2 separate regions of the Homo sapiens genome follow, and region 2 is linked to region 1. Evidence: promoter capture Hi-C in 16 types of primary human blood cells and fetal thymus (Javierre and others, 2016). All regions are on one chromosome and are shown on one strand. The core of a region is centred on a gene start or on the middle of the fragment in contact, and the rest is flanking DNA. Distances in the headings are between cores, read along the strand shown. Region 1 holds the start of LY6D (lymphocyte antigen 6 family member D). Region 2 overlaps LOC105375794 (a long non-coding RNA gene).

The links. Contacts are between HindIII fragments. The CHiCAGO score rates a contact against its expected background, and 5 or more counts as called.
Region 2: a fragment that was not itself captured here is called in contact with the fragment with the promoter of LY6D in region 1 in 1 of 17 cell types (naive CD8 T cells); the score reaches 5.6 in naive CD8 T cells.

Annotation. Positions count from the first base shown.
Region 1 is chr8:142,784,890-142,787,829 of GRCh38, forward strand. It overlaps LY6D (lymphocyte antigen 6 family member D), which reads right to left and starts at 1,650. Exons shown (of 3, transcript NM_003695.3): 1 at 1,576-1,650; 2 at 700-798; 3 at 1-567. The coding sequence starts at 1,627. The coding sequence ends at 332. The HindIII fragment of the contact is 15,715 bases long and covers 1-2,940 here.
Region 2 is chr8:142,926,877-142,929,827 of GRCh38, forward strand. LOC105375794 (a long non-coding RNA gene) reads left to right here. Exons shown (of 2, transcript XR_928730.1): 2 at 1-297. Among named protein-coding and RNA genes, the nearest start is that of CYP11B2, 11 kb to the left of the region's middle. The HindIII fragment of the contact is 1,036 bases long and covers 1,023-2,058 here.

The DNA of each region.
Region 1 (2,940 bases), core at 400-2,899:
AATCATTTATCTCCATGTAGAGATTTGAGTACAAAAATAAACGGCAACAAAACAGAAGGAGTGTGAAATCCGGGGATCCACAGGGCTTCTGTCCTCCACCTTCCATGCAGCTGGGGGCTGCATCCTCTGTGGGGTGGCTTCATCCTCTGTGGGGTCTGTGGGGCCTGCTCCAAGTCATCAGCATTCCATGCCCACCTGGACCTGGTCCCAGACTTTCGGGGAAGCCCTCAGCCTGGGGCTCCTGGCACCCCCGTTGCGGCTGGGGAAGAGAGGTGTGGAATCCCCAGAGAAAGGGAAGGAAAGGCATGAGGGGCCTTCCCTGGGGGGAAGGTCACAGGCTGGGGGCTAAGATGACGGCCAGGAGGCTCAGGGCCAGCCCCAGGCTGAGGGCACTGTGGGCGAGGGCGGTGCGGGTGGGTGCAGCGTTGTGCAGCTTCTCATTGCACAGGTCCTCCTGGCAGCACTGGGTGGAGCTGGTGCCGCTGCTGACCTGGCCTTGCAGGGTGTAGCTGGGTGTGCACGACTCCGCACAGTCCTTCTTCACCAGATTCCCCCTCAGAGGCTCCACTGGGCACAGGTGAGTGTGGTCAGGCCAGGCAGCCACCTCTGCCCCCCACCTCCCCACAACCTTCCAGCCAACACCCACAACAGCCAGGGATGTCCCCCAGCCCCAGGGACACCTGGACAGATGCTACCCACCTGTGTTCGTGGTCTTGCAGAAGCGAGAGCTGGCCGGGCAGACCACAGAATGCTTGCAGTTGCTGGAGCTGGTGCACACGTGGCAGCGCAGGGTAAGGGCTGGCGGGGAGGGAGTCCGGCTCAGCGGGCCCAACAGAGGCCTCCTGGTGACTCAGCAGGGCCTGCTCCCCCACCTGCAGAGACCCCTCCTGGACAGAGGCCCTGCTGCCCTTGCCCTAGGCCCCCAAACCCGGGCTCTGGGTCCTGGCAGGGCATGTGCCCTGAGTGCAGCCTCAGGGGACATGTATTCCAGCCTGGGCCGGCTTGGAAGAGGTGTCCTGCCCTGCCCCTGTCTAGGGTGTGTTGCAAGCCTTTCCTCCAAGGTCTCAGGGAGCTCTGCGACTGCCAAGAGGACACTGGCTCTTGTCCCCACCCCAGGGGATGTCCCTGGAGGAGATGGCTATGTTTCTGAGGGCCTGACGGAGCTAAGGCCCCGGGGGCAGCCAGCTTGGCTGCTCTGAGCCTATGACAGGAAGGGCTTGGTGGCCTTTGGGCTGTCCTGGGCTGTGCTGGGGGAGACCTGGGGACCGGGAGGGGCTGGTGGCAGGGACTAGATGGCCGCTCTCCCAGTGAGAAGCATCTCAAGACAACCCCCTGCTCCACTCTCTCAGGGTCCGTGACTCCAGGAGTCAGTTCTAAGATCCTCAGATTCTGAAACATTGTAAATCTGACACTCGTTAAGATTCGGGCTCCATGTTGTTTTAAATTTGAAGAGTCTAGCACCCACAGTGTCGGGGTTCTCTGTGCCTAGATGTCGTCAGCTCCAGGCTCCTAGTATTTGGTGACCACACAGGCCACAGCCGCCCACCCGCCCGTCCCCTTGGCCCAGCCCCTCACCTGGCCCTGTAGCCACAGCCAGGGCTGCAAGGAGCAGCAATGCTGTCCTCATCTCTGATGTCGTCTGGGAGCAGTGCGGGCCCCTGCATTGCCAAGGCCTTATAGGCACGGGCTGGGCGGGGGTGGGCAGTCCGCCAGCCAGCGGCATTCTGCAGGGCTCTGTGCAAGCGTCAGCCCAGGACGGGCACCTGCCCCACCCTGCCTGGCCCACGCCCACCAGCCTGGCTGTCGCTGGGCGCTGCCCCTGCTGCCCCCCGCCAGGCAGAGGTCTGCCCTCCGCAACGGGGCCCAGTGGCCTCCTGGCCCTGCTGTTCCTGCTGCTGTGCCTCCATCTCTCCCACTTTCACTTCTCTGTCTCTGTGGGTCTTGTTCTCTCGCTGCCGTCCGTTCCTGGGTCACTTTGTCTCTGACCTGCCACCCGCTACCCCCCGCCCCCCACCCCCCACCATCCATCACCATCCTGTGTCTTTGTCCCTGCATTCCCCCCATAGTTCCCTCAATAGAGTTGCAGCCTGTGCCCGGTGCCCTGTGGGTGCCCGTGGGTGTCCAGGGCAGGGGAGGTAGGAAGGGCAGGTGCTGGTCCTACTCTCCTGGCTCTGGGCTCAGGGTTGCTGCCGGGGATGCAGAAGGTCCTTGAGCTGCAAGGGCTCGGGGTGGCTGTGGGCTGATGGGGTGTGTGAGGCAGAGGCAGAGGCAGAGGCCACTCCGAGGCAGGGAGGGCAGCTGGGGCAGCAGTGAGGTGAGCACTGGACAGAGTGAGGACTGTGAGGACCCGGCCCTCGAAGTTGCCTGGGGAGCCCTGTGGGCAGAAGGCCCGGGCTGTGGAGGCAGCAACTCCACCCTGCGTTGTGCAGGGAGAGACTGAGCCCTCCTGGTCTCCACCAGCCCTGCCTCCCGCCCTCCAGGGCCCCAGAAGCCCTCCCCGTGGGATTCCTTCCCCCACTCTCCAGGCCCCTCCTGCTACGTTGGGGGCAGCGCCATCCCGGCCACTTTGTAACTATTGCTCTAGGTGTCCCGGCTCCAGTCTCCCCAAAATCGTGAACTCTTTGGGGCTGGGCCCCAGCACCCAGGGCCTCAAAGCAGGTTCTTGGTCTGCTGCCCGTTGAGTGGAGGCCAGTCCCCGCCTTCACCCTCTTTATACTCACAGGAGGGACTTTCTTTCCCTGGAGACGGGGTCTCTGAGCACCCACCGCCTCGCGCAGGAGCCCACCTCTTGGGGCCCCCATCCACCTGCTCAGCCCAGCACGCTCTGCCGCTCGCCTGTGCTGGGCAGCACCCACCTGAGTGGTGTGGAGGGGCCCACAGACTTGCTTTGCCCCTGCCCTGGCTAGGCTGAAGGTGAGTGGGAGCCGGGGCACAGATGGA
Region 2 (2,951 bases), core at 291-2,790, 140 kb after region 1:
AATCCTCCAGAAGCCAGATGACTCCTGCATCCGTCTCCTCCTTCTGTGCTCCAGTCCCTCTCCCTGAGGGCAGCCTATTGACCAGGTTGCAAGAAGAACCCAGGCTGACTTTCTCTCCATGGGGCCCTCATCTGATCCACTGAAAATACTCACATATCTCCAGTGCCAGCCTCAGAGGCACAGTTGTTTCCTTTCGGTCAATATTTGCCTGGAGGTTTTTTTTTTTCATTCTGTGACTTTCAACCTTTCTGTAAGTTGTGTTTTAGATATTTCTTATTTAAACATCCTATAGAGATATTGTGTTGTTGTTAGTGTTGTTCTATTTAGTTTGACAATCTTTGTCTTTTAACTCTCAAAGTCCATCCACTTAGTATTTTTGTGATAACTAATGTATGTGGATTATGTTCACTTTATTTTCTGCATTTGGTTTATCCCAAGTTATCCATTTTTAAGTTCCCTCTTTTTCTCTCCTACTTCGGAAGACATATTCTCCATTTCCATTATTTTCATGGTTACCTTAGACATTTTAAAGTGAATTTTGTTAGCCAGGCATGGTGGCACATGCCTGTAGTCCCAGCTACTCAGGAGGCTGAGGCAGGAGGATCTCTTGAGCCCAGGAGCTTAAGGCTGCGGTGAGCTATGATCGCCACAACCCTCCAGGCTGGGTGACAGAGCAAGACCCTGTCTCAAAAATAAATAAATATATAAAGTAAATTTTGTAACTTAAAGTATAACATTACTATTCAGTATCTTCCCATAAAAAAATAAACAAACATAGAAACTTTAGAGCTTTTTAACTCTGGTCACCCTCTTTTGACGGTTATGCTGTTATTGGCCAATATTAAAGTTCTATTTTGGTTTTTTAACAACATAAACTGGATGTTATCATTGTGATCAGAGTTCACGTTTGCCTCCTTTTAGTCACGTGTTTTCTTTGCTCAGATTCATCTCTACACTGGAAGATTTTGGGCTAGGTGAATTCCATTCTTTCTGGAGGTCATTCTTTAAAACATCTTTGGAAAAGCTTCTGTTGGTAGAGATCTCTTTCAGGTCTCTAGGTCTAAAAATGTCTTATTTTAATCTAAATCTTCAAAGATAGTTGTGTTGAGTGTTCATTTCCAGGTAGGCAGTGCTTGTATTTCAGCATTTTGAAGATGTTAGACGCGGCAGGCGATGTTCACTGCCCTTCCACACACGTCCTGTTCTTCCCTGGCAGGTGAACGGGCTCCGTTCCCAGCCTGCCTTGCAGTCTGTGCTCCCCTGTGTCTGAGTTTGGCCAGTGGAACGGGGGAGAAGACACATGTGCCTCCCCTGGCCTGGCCCTACCCCATCTCGGCCTGGCAGCCTCAGATACCACGTGTCGGAACGACGGGTGGAAGGAGGGTGACCTGATTAGGAATGCTCACTTCCGAGTGTCTGTGAGAGGGGCTTCTTTCCCATTGGAGCCATCGTGCACATGTGTTTTGTTGCAGCGGTGGGTGTGCGCCAACCCCTTGGCCACTGTCTCTGGCTTCCGCAGCTGGCGTTGGAACGCCGGCCGTCACGCTGCCATCCCAGGGTGTGGGATGCCCTGGAGGCTACAGGGAGAGCTTTGTTATTGAGATCTCTTCGGAGTCTGTGGAAGAGTTCCTTTTCCCTCACCCTGCTGGGAATTCTCTGTGCCTCTGACTCTTAGTGTTTCATCAGCTCTTTTAAAATTCCTCCAGGACAGTCTGGTAGTTCATTTTGATTGTTCGTTAGTCACACACCTTACGCCTTCTCACTTCTTTAAATGTAGAGATACTATTGGCTTCAAAAGACTGGAAATCAGGAACCCTGGACCTGGTCTTCATGCAGGTGGGCCTGGCTTGCAGCTGTGTTTTCCCTTCTGAGCCTTACTGTTTGCTTTTCTGGTTTTCCAGAAACTGTCACTTGCCCAGGGCCACTTTTTGTATTAAAGGCTCGGCTTGGGGTTCATCAAAGGTGGGGTGACCTAAATCCTAAACCAATTTGAGGGCCTCCATCCTGATCCATAGGAGGGGACATTTCTCACTCCTCATTCCCAGGGTTAAAGAGCCAAGCTTCCTTCTCATCTCCCATGCTGTTAGATAGAATATTTCTGGACCACATTTTCACTGAAGTTGTAGTCTTGAAAGTTAAGGCTTTATGTGGGGCTTTCAACTCGTTTCTTTCTTTCTTTTTTTTTTTTAGAGACAGAGTCTTGCTCTGTTGCCCAGGCTGGAGAGCAGTGGCACTATCTCAGCTCACTGCAGCCTCCGCCTCCCAAGTTCAAGCCATTCTCCTGCCTCAGCCTCCCAAATAGCTGGGACTACAGACATGTGCCACCATGCCCGGCTAATTTCTTTTCTTTTCTTTTCTTTTTTTTCTTTGTATTTTTAGTAGAGACGGGGTTTCACCATGTTACCCAGGATGGTCTCCATCTCCTGACTTTGTAATCCATCCACCTCAGCCTCCCAAAGTGCTGGGATTACAGGAGTGAACCACAGTGCCCAGCCATTCAATTCCAATTTCTAACTTTGCTTGTATCCTAACCCTCACCTCCTTTCCTCCTTAGAACTCAAGCCATCTTTTCACCAAGGTGATGAAAGCGGTTGCCGCATGCACCCCCACTCCCAGGTGATGGCTGTGTTGGCTTCTGTACTGACTGGTTGCCTATCATAATCCCAGAAGACACAACTCCAAATGCCATAATCCCAAATGTTGAAATCCCAAAAGATCAAAATCTCAAAAATACAATTCTGGAAAAATATTGTAATTATTTTAAAGATATTTATTCACATTTTTAAGGGGGACTTGTTTGAGAAACGCATAAAAACATGGCAGAACACTTCCTCAGCCACTTTACGCAATAAAACAGGCAATAAGAACTTCCATATTTTTGCAATCATAAATACTCAGGCCATCACCTGGGAGTGGGAGTGCGTGTGGCAACTTGTAGGAGCCTGGTCACA